Regions from separate parts of the Homo sapiens genome. Here region 1 is linked to region 2. The links are contacts of gene promoters, found by promoter capture Hi-C in human tissues and cell types (Jung and others, 2019). All regions are on one chromosome and are shown on one strand. Each heading gives the region's core, a stretch centred on a gene start or on the middle of the fragment in contact. The rest is flanking DNA. Distances are from core to core; before and after follow the strand shown. Region 1 holds the start of ILF3 (interleukin enhancer binding factor 3). Region 2 holds the start of TYK2 (tyrosine kinase 2).

What was found. Contacts are between HindIII fragments. The study calls those that stand out against the background at their distance.
Region 1: the fragment with the promoter of ILF3 here is called in contact with the fragment with the promoter of TYK2 in region 2 in 1 of the 25 tissues and cell types used here (lymphoblastoid cells).

The regions. Positions count from the first base shown.
Region 1 is chr19:10,649,773-10,656,669 of GRCh38, forward strand. ILF3 (interleukin enhancer binding factor 3) reads left to right here and starts at 4,574. Exons shown (of 20, transcript NM_017620.3): 1 at 4,574-4,715. It overlaps ILF3-DT (ILF3 divergent transcript), which reads right to left and starts at 4,100. Exons shown (of 1, transcript NR_024333.1): 1 at 2,090-4,100. RefSeq lists enhancers at 2,582-3,084, 3,085-3,586, 3,452-3,621, 3,862-4,331 and silencers at 4,422-4,661, 4,742-4,901. The HindIII fragment of the contact is 14,146 bases long and covers 402-6,897 here.
Region 2 is chr19:10,376,812-10,383,907 of GRCh38, forward strand. It overlaps TYK2 (tyrosine kinase 2), which reads right to left and starts at 3,761. Exons shown (of 25, transcript NM_003331.5): 1 at 3,569-3,761; 2 at 2,804-2,968; 3 at 1,403-1,615. The coding sequence starts at 1,595. RefSeq lists enhancers at 3,659-3,818, 3,727-4,390. The HindIII fragment of the contact is 20,387 bases long and covers 1-7,096 here.

The DNA.
Region 1 (6,897 bases), core at 3,324-5,823, 270 kb after region 2:
AGATAAAAAACATAGAGATGGGGTCTCACTATGTTGCCCAGACTGGTCTTGAACTTCTGGGCTCAAGCAATCCCCCTGCCTCAGCCTCCCAAAGTGTAGGATTACAGGCATGAGCCAGCATGCCTGGCCAAGACAACATTTTTCAGGAAGTTCTGGTTGGATGGGGCACCCGTTCAAGAGGTAACAATCATAACCATTACTGTTTTTGAAGCTTTAACTCCATGCCAGGTACTGAAGCAACCCCTTGATGTTGAATTAACTCCGAATCAGTCCTCCTCCAAATCAAACCCTAGGAGGTTTGGGTTTGATCCAAAGACTGTGCTTGTCATCATGACCCTATCCGCCCTTTACTGTGTTTGGGGTCCCTGGGGCAAGAAACGCCTTAGCGGAATGAGATCTTCAAAAGCGTTTTAAGTAACCTTAGGCTCTCTGGAGTTGGGAGTCAGAAAACTAGTAACCATCCTCGTTCTGCCATTTGGCAGTGCTGTTAGCTCAAGCAAGTCACTAAAACTGACCTGTTCCGAAAAAAAGCCAGTCTAGGCTTTGTTATTAACATTCGTTATTATCACAGTGACCTTCAACAATTTAAAGCTTTAACCAATTTTTTGGTTTTGTTTTTGTTTTTTTGAGACAGGGCTTCTGTTGCCTAGGCTAGAGAGCAGTGGCCCAATCTCAGTTCACTGCAGCCTCAACCTCCTGGGCTCAAATGATCCTCCCACCTCAGCCTCCTGAGTAGCTGGGACTACAGGTGTGTTCCACCATGCCCTGGCATTTTAACCAATTTTATCTTAGTGCATGCCCCAATCATCTTACCAAACCTTTCTTCAATTTCCAGCTCTATTTGTGAGACAGATCTGAGGCACAGGAAATGAAATTAAAAAGCCTGGTGCAGAATAACTTATCAATTTATGTGAAAAACAAGAATATGATTATGCACCTCTGAAAATAAAACTCTACTGTAGTTACACAAAAAACTGTACAATGGCTGGTCGCGGTGGCTCACGCATATAATCCTAGCACTTTGGGAGGCCGAGGCGGGTGGATCACGAGGTCAGGAGATCGAGACCATCCTGACTCACCCGGTGAAACCCAGTCTCTACTAAAAATACAAAACATTAGCCGGGCGTGGTGGTGGGCGCCTGTAGTCTCAGCTACTCGGGAGGCTGAGGCAGGAGAATGGCGTGAACCCAGGAGGCGGAGCTTGCAGTGAGCCAAGATCGTGCCACTGCACTCCAGCCTGGGAGACAGAGCAAGACTCCGTTTCAAAAACAAAAAACAAAAAACAAAACTGTACAATGGCTTCTAAGAGGGAGGGAACTGGATGTCTGAGGAAGACTTTGTGCTCTCATGTCTTTGGCACTTTTTTTTTTTTTTGAGATGGAGTCTCACTCTGTCGCCCAGACTGGAGTGCAATGGCACGATCTCAGCTCACTGCAACCTCTGCCTCCCGAGTTCATGCCATCCTCCTGCCTCAGCCTCCCGAGTCGCTGAGACTACAGATGCCCACCACCACGCCCGGCTAATTTTTTTTTGTATTTTTAGTAGAGACGGGGTTTCACTGTGTTAGCCAGGATGGTCTTGATCTCCTGACCTCGTGATCCGCCCACTTCAGCCTCCCAAAGTGCTGGAATTACAGGCGTGAGCCACCGCGCCCGGCGTCTTTGGCACATTTGACGTATCATGTGACTATGCTACCTATTAAAAATCCACAGTAAAATGTAAATAAAATAGAAAAGCAGAGGGTACAGCATGCACTCATTTCTTTTTTGAGACGGTCTAGCTGTGCCATCCAGGCTGAAAAGTGCAGTGACTCCATCACGGCTCACTGCAGCCTGGACCTCCACAGCTCAAGTGATCCTCCCACCTACTCCTCCCAAGTAGATGGAACTATGGACACAGGCCATCACGCTCAGCTAATTTTTGTAGAGACTGGGTTTTGCCATGTTGCTCAAGCTGGCCTCAAACTCCTGGGCTTAAGGGATCCTCCAGCCTCGGCCTCCCAAAGTGTGGGGATTACAGGCGTGAGCCACCATGCCCGGCTAGGCACTCATTTCTGTAATTGTTGCAGGAAACAAAGGACCAGAGAGACTGACACGGGAAACAGGAGGATTTATTTAGATGTACACCGGCTCAGTGGATTTGTATCTGAAAAGCTGACCATTGAACAAAGACTGAGTGTGGTTTTTATAGGCAAACTTACAGAAGCAAAACAAAAGCAGTTAATGATACAGTCACAGGTCATGTAATCTATAGCATAACTGCTGACTTAGCATAACTTGTGGCTTTGCACAGCTGTTGGCCTTGCAGCTGTGTCAAAAGAAAAACAGAGTCTACAAATCTTACTAAATACAACCATTGGCAAACAGTCATATTTAATGGTTCAGAAAAGGAGAGACAGTAAAGGAATTTTTCTTTTCAACTTTGCTCCGGAGGAGGCTGTCTGGAGCCCATTCCTTTGGCCTCGACTTTTCAGTGTTATAACTGTCCTTGAAGTAAGCTGGCTAAGCAGAGGAAAACTTGTTCTTGTTTTCTTTTTAACCCTTACCCCCTGCCACATAATCACATCTTTACACTTCTTTTTTTTTTTTTTTTTTTTTTTTAAGATGGGAAGTCGGAGTCTCGCTCTGTCGCCCAGGCTGGAGTGCAGTGGTGCCATCTCGGCTCATTGTAACCTCTGCCTCCCAGGTTCAAGTGATTCAAGCCATTCTTGTGCCTCTGCCTCCTGAGTAGCTGGGATTATAGGCGCACACCACCACACCTGGCGAATTTTTTTTTTTTTTTTTTTTTGAGGCTGAGTCTCACTCTATCGCCCAGGCTGGAGTGCAATGGAGCAATCTCGGCTCACTGCAACCTCCGCCTCCTGGGTTCAAGCGATCCTCCTGTCTCAGCTTCCTGATTAGCTGGGATTACAGGCGCCCTCCACCACACCCAGTTAATTTTTCTATTTTTAGTGGAGACGGTGTTTCACCATGTTGGCCAGGCTGGTCTCAAACTCCTGACCTCAAGTGATCCGCCCACCTCAGCTTCCCAAAGTGCTGGGATTACAAGCGTGAGCCACCACGCCCAGCCAGGAAACCCATTTTCAACACCTCCTTGCTCTTTTTTTTTTCTGAGACAGAGTCTCGCTCTGTCGCCCAGACTGGAGTGCAGTGGCGCAATCTCGGCTCACTGCAACCTCCGCCTGCCAGGTCAAACAATTCTCCTGCCTCAGCCTCCCAAGTAGGTGGGACTACAGGCATGTGCCACCACACCCGGCTAATTTTCTTTTGTATTTTTAGTAGAGACGGGGTTTCACCATGCTGGCCAGGCTGGTCTCGAACTCCTGACCTCGTGATCCGCCCGCCTCGGCCTCCCAAAGTGCTGGGATTACAAACGTGAGCCACCGCGCCTGGCCTTCCTTGCTCTTCTTGCTCCAAATCCTGGGAACGTCTGAATCAACAGGCGGACATCTGTCAAACCTTCCTAGCAACTACGCCTGCGGATGGCCAACCTGACCCTGGAAGACAGTGGGGTTTAGTTAAGCACAGATTGTACATCGGGGGCCTCATAAGGCGCCTGGAAGCATTCAAGAACACCACGCTTGTAAGGACAAAGCACTCGGTCACGGGCGCCTTTACTTCGGAGCTCCGCGCTGCTGCTGGACGAGCGTCCGTTGAGTCCCAGCCCCAATTTTTCCAGGAAATGGCGGTGAGCCCTCTAGTGAGATATTTTTTGGCCTGGGCCTCAGTTTCTCCATCTGTCAATGGGGGAAGGGGAAGGCGGGCTAGAGGACCCCGACCAGGTCGGCTGCAGCCTTCGGAAGCTACGGCCCAGGGACGCCACACCAAGGCAGGTCTGCGGGACGAAAGAACCCAAGAACCCGGGCGCGCATTGGCGCCGGTCCCGGGCTCAAGGGGCAGCAACGAGGAGACGCTGGACCTGGCCGTTCCTCGCACACATCTCTAACCTTCTGTGCCTCTCAAGGGAGATGGGGTGAGCATAGCCACCTCCACTGGAGCCCGAAAATCCCCGGCCGAGATACCGCCACTAAAAAGGTACACATGCGTCAAAGCCTCTCGGAGCCATTTCCGCTAACGTACTCAGGGCGACGGGCGTAAGATGGCGGCCGCGCAGGCGCAAAATGTCGCAGCCGTAGGGAGGCTCCGCCTCTGACGCTTGCCTTGCATCACGTGGTAATGGCCGCTCAAAAAACGCCTTAGCGAAAACCAGAGCGTGCCCTCGTCACGTGATGGAGGACTCCCAGTACGGCAAAGGGAAGGCGCCAAAAGTTGTCAGATGGCGAAGGAAACCGCGAAATTCGCCATTGTCACATGATGGAGCAACCTATCGAAAGCGGAGGGAAAGGTGCCGAAGTCACGTGACTACGCACGCAAACACTCCCGCTTGCACCACGTGCAACTCACGCCCACCCCCTCAGCCCCCCCCTTATCTCTTTTCGCCCCTCCCTCCCATTTGGGTTGGGCCTGCGTCGAGGCGCAACGCGGCGTCAAAGGGGGCGGGGCTTCAGCCGGTCACGTGTTCCCGCACCTCCCCGGCGCGCGCCTGCCCGCCCGCCCGCTCGCCCCCGGTCCGGACTCCTCCTCCTCCTCTTCTCGCCATTGCAGTTGGACCCAGCAGCCCGGCGCGCACCGCGTGGCTTTTGGGGGCAGACCCCGGCGGGCTGTGGCAGGAGGGCGGCGGCGGCGGCTGCGGTCGAAGAAGGGGACGCCGACAAGGTAAGCGTCAATGTGGCGGCGGCCGGGCCCGCTCCCGCCTCTGCCCCTCCCCCCGCCCGCCCTCAGTGAGATCCCCACTGAGGGTTCGCGGTGACAAGGCTGGAGGGATCCCACGCTCGCCGCCTCCGCCCGGTTCCCTCATCCCGGCGCCTGGCCCGTTCCTCCCTTGCCGGCCTCGCTCCCGCGCTCGGCCGTTAACTCTCTTCCATTGTGCGGAGGAAACAAAATGGCGGCTGCGGCGGCGGCGAGGACTCGGTGCGCGCGCAGCCGCTCCCCCCCGCACGCGGCCCCTCGGCCGGCGGCGGCGCCACGCGCGGGGGGGTGCGCGCGCACCGGGCCCCCGGCTGCCGCCTCCCCGCGGCTGGGCTTTTGTCTGTTGCGGGGGTCCTGGGGACGCGCGCACGTGCTTGGAGCACACACCCCCTCGGGTCCCGAGTTCCGCGGCGGGGCGACCCCCCTTCCTCACTCCTTCCCTACCCCCTCCTCCTCTTTGTCCCGGTCCCGCCCCCGATTCCAGGAGAGTCCCAGGTTCCCGAGGCGGGAAAAGTCGCCTCCTTTGTCCTCACAGGTCGCGGAGAGGCGGACCCCCTCCTTGGAAGCCCCTTCCCACGCGGATTGCTGAGGAAGCCTTTGTGGGTTCGTCGGGTTTCCAAATCTCTGGTCAGCCAGGCCTCTCTCAGATCAGGGTCAAAACTTGAGAGGGTTTCAGCTTTTTCTTTAGTTAGTTTGTTTTCATTGTTGAATGTTTTTCCAGATTGTTAGTATTTGCCTTCTCTAGACCGGCAATCTACTTGGGTGCAAGCCTGGGCCCCGAAACGTGGATGCTTAAAACCCATTTCTACCTTTATTTTCTCAAGTAGTTGAACGATTGAGATTCTCGAGGTTACTCATGAGGTTCTGCCCCAGTTAATTCACCGCCTGGATGAATTATTTGGGGTGTACGGCGGTCTGCATGCTCCTCCCCCAGTTCAGTGGCCAAATTTGAGGAGAATGAGGGATCTCTTCTCCACATTTCCAACATTGTTTGCCAGTTGCTGCTTAGGTGACATGGATCAGCAACGAAGCGTCGGTTTCAGTGGTTTCTTTTTCTGGACTCCGGTAATTCACTGCTGCTGAATCTTTTTCAAGATTTTGCTCTCTTTAAAATGAGTGGTGTGATGGCATATTTGTGGTCCACATGGAATCGCGAGGTGCCATCCGAAGTTAGGATTCAAATTTAGGACTTTAAGCTCTCTTTTCCTCAGGTATTTGTGGATGGGAATCTCCATGGATTGCTCAGAGTGCTGCCACTGTCCCTTGTGCGTGATGCTTTGTGTGTGGTCTCGTGGGATGTAGTTACAGTAGCCGCCCAGACTGTGAATGAAGTGTGGGAACCAGGGCCTCATTCACAGCTGGAAAGCAGGAGGAGGCCGCAGGACATTGGCAGGTGCTCCTCTCCCTGTTCCGTGGTGCTGGGGCCCCTTGCTTATGTGGGTGGCTCTTGGTCCCTGGGATTTGTGAATGGAGTCTGCAGGCCCCAGTGTTGTCTGGAATATTCTTTAGTTCAGATTGGAGGCTAGCAATGACTGCCAGGCTTGGCCTTGCCGCCACTGGGCGCTATTTATCACTCTCCCTATCTTCCTGGAGCTTAGCCGAGTCTTCCTGGAGCTGAGAGGTGCCTAATTGTTTGTGGTTTTTCTGATTGAACTTGTTTGGTGCCTCTAGGCAAAAATTCCTTTGGCTCCTTCTAGTATTTTCAGGGTCTTGAAGGCCCATATTCCTGAGCATGAGGAATCTAAGTCTGTTATTTTTTCCTAAATTTTCATGTTAAATACCACGTTGACAAAGGACAGCTGCTAATATTTTGATCACACAGATACAGACGGTGCTCCCTGGTTAAGGCCTCCAGGTAGGGGACAGGTAGAGTCAGTGATGGGGAAGAAGCCTTCTGTAAGTCCCTTTCCTTTGGGTAGACAGTAGATTACCCTTTAGGCTTTAGCAAGATGTGGGGGTTAGAAGTCTTCTATTCTTGGAAAAGCCTTTAGTCGTTTTCTTTGGGCTGGGGCCTCTTCTCTTAGGGACTGCTGTCACCCTTTCTCGGTTTCTTTTGATTACCTTTCATGGCCCCAGAGGAGTGATCCCTTCCCTTATTTATACCTCTTGGACTTGTCATCCTGCTACATTTTGTCAGCAAGTTAATTCA
Region 2 (7,096 bases), core at 2,511-5,010:
GGCTGCTCTCAAACTTCTGACCTCAAGTGATCCACCAGCCTCAGCCTCCCAAAGTGCTGGGATTACAGGCATGAGCCACCGCGCCCGGCCTGACTTTCTTTTTTTAATGACACTGGGTCTCACTCTGTCACCCAGGCTGGAGTGCAGTGACGAAACCATACCTCATTGCAGGCTTGAACTCCTGGGCTCAAGCGATCCTCTTGCCTCAGGCTCTCAAGTTGCTGGGACTACAGGCATGTACCACCATGCCTGGCTAATTTCTAAAAATTATTTTGTTGAGACAAGGTCTCCCTATGTTGCCCAGGCTGGTCTCCAACTACTGGCCTCAAGCAATCCTCCTGCCTGGGCCTCCTCAAGTACTGGGATTACAAGTGTCAGCTACTGCACCTGGCCAAGTTTTCTGATTTATTATATTTCTTGCTGTCCTCCCTACTAAAATTTCAGCTCTACAAAGGCAGTGATTTGCAGCTGCCACACAGTAGATGCTTACAAAATGTTCACCGAATGAACGGGTGGATGGATGGATGGATGGATGGATGGATGGATGGATGGATGGATGGATAGATGGATGAATAGGTGGGTGGGTGGGTGGATGGATGGATGGATGGATGGATGGATGGATGGATGGATAGATGGATGAATGGGTGGGAGGATGGATGGGTGGGTGGATGGATGGATGCATGGATAGGTGGGTGAGTGGGTGAGTGGGTGGGTGGATGGATGGATGGATGGATGGGTGGGTGGGTGGATGGATGGGTGGGTGGGTGGATGGATGGATGGATGAATGGATGGATGGGTGGATGGATGGGTGGATGGGTGGGTGGATGGATGGGTGGATGGATGAATGGGTGGGTATGGATGGATCGATGGGTGGATGGATGGATAGATGGATGAATGGGTGGGTGGATGGATGGGTGGATGGGTGGGTGGGTGGATAGGTGGGTGGATGGGTGGGTGAGTAGGTGGATGGATAGGTGGATAGGTGGGTGGATGGATGAGTGGGTGGGTGGATGTATGGATGGATGCGTGGGTGGATGGATGGGTGGGTGGGTGGGTGGATGGATGCGTGGGTGGATGGATGGGTGGGTGGGTGGGTGGATGAATGGGTGGATGGGTGGATGGGTGAAAGGGTGGGTGGATGGGTGAATGGGTGGGTGAATGGGTGGGTGGATGGGTGGATGGGAGGATGGATGGATGCATGGGTGGATGGATGGGTGGGTGGGTGGATGGATGGGTGGTTGGGAGGGTGGATGGGTGGGTGGATGGGTGGATGGATGGATGGATGGATGAGTGGGTGGATGGGTGGGTGGATGGGTGGGTGGGTGGATAGACGGATGGATGGGGCCCAGCTGCTGCTTGCACACCCACCCCAGTCCCCATGGTGCCAACGCCCCAGACTCACCAACTTTATGTGCAATGTGGATGCAGACTTCCTCAGCTGTCAGCGATGACTCACTGAAAGTGACCCAGGGCTCCCCGCCGCCTGGACCAGCCCAGTGCAGAAGCACCTTCAGGCCTCCCATGGCAGCCATGGGCTGGGCTCCATCCCCAACGGGCTTACTGCCCCTGGCCATCCCCCAGTGGCGCAGAGGCATGCTCCCGGCAGGTGGCTCAGCTGGAAAGGGGACAATCTGTCAGCTCCCAAGTCTCAGCCCAGAGACCCCTGTTAGCTCTTCAACCTTCCACCCACCCCAGCTAAGGCCTGAGGGGAAGATTCTGGGCTCCCATCTTGGCATGACATTAGAGACCCGATTCCCTCTCTGAGTCTCGTTTTCCACATTTATTGGACAGGGTTGGGGTATGCATCCCCACCTAGATCTCTCATCAACAATAACACTGAACCCTCCTCTCTTTCCACAAATTGACACAGATATAAAAATCTGCTCTGGCCAGGTACAGTGGCTCACGCCTCTAATCCCAGGACTTTGGGATGTTGAGGCAAGAGGATTGCTTGAGCCCAGGAGCTCGAGACCAGCCTAGGCCATATAGCAAGACCCTGTTTCTACAAGACGTTTTATTTTATATCTTATCTTATCTTATCTTATCTTATCTTATCTTATCTTATCTTATTTTTGAGACAGAGTTTCACTCTTGTTGCCCAGGCTGGAGTGCAATGGTACAATCTTGCTCACCACAACCTCTGCCTCCTGGGTTTAAGTGATTCTCCTGCCTCAGCCTCCTGAGTAGCTGGCGCCTGCCACCACACCGGGCTAATTTTTGTATTTTTAGTAGAGACAGGGTTTTGCCATGTTGGCCAGGCTGGTCTTGAACCTCTGACCTCAGGTGATCCACCCGCCTCGGCCTCCCAAAGTGCTGGGATTACAGGCGTGAGCCACTGTGCCCGGCCTCTACAAGAAATTTTTAAAATTTAGCCAGGCGTGGGGGTGCACATCTGTACTCCAAGCTACTCGGGAGGCTGAAGTGGGAGGATCTCCTGAGCCCAGGAGTTGGAGGCTGCAGTGAGCAGTGATCGCACCACTGCATTCCAGCCTGGGTGACAGAGTGAGACCCTGACTCTAAAAATATAAATAAATAAATAAATAAATAAGTAATAAAAATATATAAAAAGGGCCAGGCGCGGTGGCTCATGACTGTAATCCCAGCACTTTGGGAGGCCAAGGCGGACAGATCACGAGGTCTGGAGATTGAGACCATCTTGACCAACATGGTGAAACCCCATCTCTACTAAAATACAATAAATAAATAAATAAATAAATAAATAAATAAATAAAAAGTAAAATAAAAATCTGCTCTTAACACACCTCCCCAAAATAACCAGACAGGCAGATGTGGTCAAACATACCTGAGGGTGAGTCCTGGAGCTCCCTGTGTCAACTCAAGCAAGCCACTTAGCAATTCTGGGCCTCAGTTTCCCCATCTGGAAAAGGGAGGTCCTCAGGGTGTTGCCATCAAAAGATGGTTGTAATGTTTCAATATAGTTCCGCATATTACACATTCAGCACAGACCCTGATTCAGGCACACACAAAAAGAACAAATATGACCAAAACAAGAATAACATAATTGTTATTAGTTTCATCGTGGTGATGGCCTCTTTCAGGCCACAATTCTCCTCTCCCACATTTACCCCCATGAGTGACCTCAGTCCCTGTTGACTCCCCAAAGCCTAGGAGAGTTTATGTCCAGCTCCATCCCCCCAATCCAGGGCCTGAGCCTCCTGAGGGCGCCAGTATGGAAGTGGAGGGGCTGTCACTTCCACCCATGTTGCTGGTTTCCTCATCTGGAAAATGGGCATGTAACAGTGTCTACCTCAAAAGGCTGCTGGGAGGATTTAACGCGAGGAGGCAGAGAAAGTGCCTGGTATACAGTAAGCGCTTAATTAGCCTTTGCCATTAATACCTATTCATGTTATAGATGAGATCCCGGGGATGGGGCTTTCGCGGAGCCTACTTCCTCCTTCCTCCTTTCTCGTCCCCACTGGACCCAGACCCAGCTTTGAAGACAGGGTCGGAGTGAAGTTTGCAACTGGGAAGGCTGCACGCCCCCATGTCCTCCCCCCAAAACCTCTAAACCCGGCCGGCAACGGCGGGAACTGGGATGTGCACCCACCGGGCATCGGAGCAGTCCCGAGGCACCAGGTGCTCCCATCCAAGTGCAGCCTGTCAAGCGCAGCCAGTCCCCGCGGCTTCTTCCTGAGGACCTCCGGCCGCGCTCCTTCCGCGCCCGCGTCCAGACTCACCCTTCCGGGGGAACACAAGCTCGAACCCGGACCCCTCCCCGCTCCCGCGGGTAGCTACTGCTTGTCCCCCGCCGAGACGCCTCCTCCCATTGGCCGCCTGAAACGCACACGCCCATTGGCAGCTGCTCTGTTCTCCCTGCTCGTCACCATTGGATTTTTTTTTTTTTGCCATGGTGGCGGCACTCTCATTGGTCCTGGGGCTCATTCGTCACTCAGCCGCGATTGGCTGAGTCGGCACCCAGATGCGCTGTCGCTTCTGCTATTGGCTGGCACTCGGTGGACGGAGACGGGGGAGGGGCTTGCGAGAGGCGGGAGGGAGAGCGAAGTGTGTGGGCAACGCGGCCGGATCCTGGAGTTCCCCTCCGTGCTGTGGAATTGGGTCAGGCGTGTACGGTCCTGACCCTAGGACACAGCTGCATGTCCTCACCTCGGTGTTCAAAGCTGCACCGGCCACCATTCAACCCTCCGACGCCCTGCCCTTTGGCTTCCCCGTTCCATCCGGTCCTGTCTCCTTTCCCTCGTTTCTACCTGGCCGACTCCATCCTGCTGACTAGAATTCCCCCTCCTTCACTCCTGGGAGGCATTCCTCGCCCACCTGCCCCAGTCCTCTTCCTGATCACCTGCAGCCCTGTCCTCTGAAGCTCCCTAGCGGTCAGGGTAGCAGCTTGGACATCCCGCCAGACGTGAATTCAAATCCCCACTCCGCAAGTCGTGCCCATTTGCTGAGAAGCCTACAGCCAGAGCGTTTCACATACATTATCTCATTTGATCCTAGCAGCAATTCCCTGTATGGCGGCTCTTATTATCCCCATTTCACAGAGGAAGAAACTCAGGCATGAAGAGGTAACAAAGACCGTCCTCTGACCCTTCTTCTGTGCCACACCATAACCACTCCTCGACTTTGTCTTTCACCTGCCCAGCCAAGTCTTAGCAAAGAAGCCTATTAAGTCATCCGCTCATCCTTGATGTCTGATCAACTTCCTCATCTTCCACTTTTTTTTTTTTTTTTTTTTAAGATGGAGTTTCGCTCTTGTCGCCCAGGCTGGAGTGCAATGCTGCGATCTCGGCTCACTGCAACCTCAGACTCCCGGATTCAAGCGATTCTCCTGCCTCAGCCTCCTGGGTAGCTGGGACAACAGGCGCCCGCCACCACGCCCGGCTAATTTTTGTATTTTTAGTAGAGATGGGATTTCACCATCTTGGCCAGGCTGGTCTCGAACTCCTGACCTCGTGATCCACCCTCCCAAAGCGCTGGGATTACAGGCGTGAGCCACCGCACCCGGCCCTTTTGTTGTTAATTTTTAAATTTTGTGGCTAATTTTTAAATTTTTGTAGAGATGGGGTCTGGCTATGTTGCCCAGGCTGGTCTTGAACTTCTGGCCTCAAGCAATCATCCTGCCTTGGCTTTCCAAAGTGCTGGGATTACAGATGTGAGCTAAGACACCCAGCTCCATGGAGTTGGTCTTAACTGCCATGGCCAAGGGACATGTGGCTGCTTCTCTCTGAGTCAGAAAATATGGGTAAAAAGCCTCCTCACAGGGCAGCTGTGGACATTCAGTATGAAAATGCTGAAAGAGATCGGGAATGGTCTCTTTCACACCTGTAATCCCAGCACTTTGGGAGGTGGAGGCGGGCGGATCACCTGAGGTCAGGAGTTCAAGACCAGACTGGCCAACATGGTGAAACCCTGTCTCTACTAAAAATGCAAAAATTAGCTGGGCATGGTGGTGGGCACCTGTAATCCCAGCTATTCAGGAGGCTGAGGCAGGAGAATCGCTTGAACTTGGGAGGCAGAAGTTGCAGTGAGCCGAGATCACACCATTGCCCTTCAGCCTGGGCAACAAGAGCTAAACTCTGTCTCAAAAAAAAAAAAAGAAAAAGAAAAAGAAAGAAAATGCTGATAGAGGCCGGGCACAGTGGCTCACGCCTGTAATCCCAGCACTTTGGGAGGCCGAGGTGGGCGGATCATGAGGTCAGGAAATCGAGACCATCCTGGCTAAGGCGGTGAAACCCCGTCTCTACTAAAAATACAAACAATTAGCTGGGCGTAGTGGCAGCCTGAGGCAGGAGAATGGCGTGAACCGGGGAGGCGGAGCTTGCAGTGAGCCGAGATTGCGCCACTGCACTCCAGCCTGGGCGCCAGAGTGAGACTCTGTCTCAAAAATAAAATAAAATAAAATAAAATAAAATGCTGATAGAGACTTGTCCTGGCTGGATGCAGTGGCTCATCCCTATAAACCTAGCACTTCAGGGAGCTAAAGAAGGAGTACTGTCTGGGCCCAGTTCAAGACCAACCTGGGCAATATAGCAAGACCCCATCTCTACCCAAAATAAAAAAAATTAGTCTAAGGCTGAAGTATGAGAATCGCTTGAGCCCAGGAGGTGGAGGTTGCAGTGGGCTGAGATCCCACCACTGCACTCCAGCTTGGGCTACAGAGTGAGACTCCATCTCGGGGGGAAAAAAAATTAGTTAGTCCCAGCTACTCCGAAGGCTGAGGTGGGAGGATTGCTTGAGCCCAGGAGGTTGAGGCTACAGTGAGCCGTGATCACACCACTGCACTCCAGCCTGGGCAACTTGACCTCCTGGGCTCTGCTGTATTTTCTTCAGAGTCCTTATTGCAACCTGACATTTCATGGGAAGTTTCTTTCTTTTTTTTTTTTTTTAAAGAGACAGAGTCTTGCTCTGTTGCCCAGGCTGGAGTGCAGTGGCGCAATCTTGGCTCACTGCAACCTCTGCCTCTCAGGTTCAAGCAATTCTCCTGCGTCAGCATCCCCGGTAGCTGGGATTACAGGCGTGCACCACCACGCCTGGCTAATTTTTGTATTTTTAATAGAGACAGGGTTTGGCCAGGTTGGCCATACTGGTCTCGAGCTCCTGACCTCAGGTGATCCACCCGCCTTGGCCTCCCAAAGTGCTGGGATTACAGATGTGAGCCACCGCGCCCAGCTGGGTTTCTCTTCTTTCTTTCTTTCTTTTTTTTTTTTTTTTTTTTTTTTTTGAGACAAGAATCTCGCTCTGTTGCCCAGGCTGGAGTGCAGTGCTGTGATCTCAATTCACTGCAGTCTCAACTTCCCAGATTCACCATTCACAATCTTCCACCTCAGCCTCCTGAGTAGCTGGGACTACAGATGTGCATCACGATGCCTGGGTAACTTTTTTTTTTTTGAGGCGGAGTCTTGCTCTGTTGCTAGGCTGAAGTGCAGTGGCACGATCTCGGCTCACTGTAATCCCTGCCTCCCAGGTTCTAGCGATTCTTCTGCCTCAGCCTCCAGAGAAGCTGGGATTACAGGCGTGTGCCACCACACCCAGCTAATTTTTTTGTATTTTTTAGTAGAGATGGGGTTTCACCATGTTGGCCAGGATGGCCTCAATCTCCTGACCTCATGATCCTCACGCC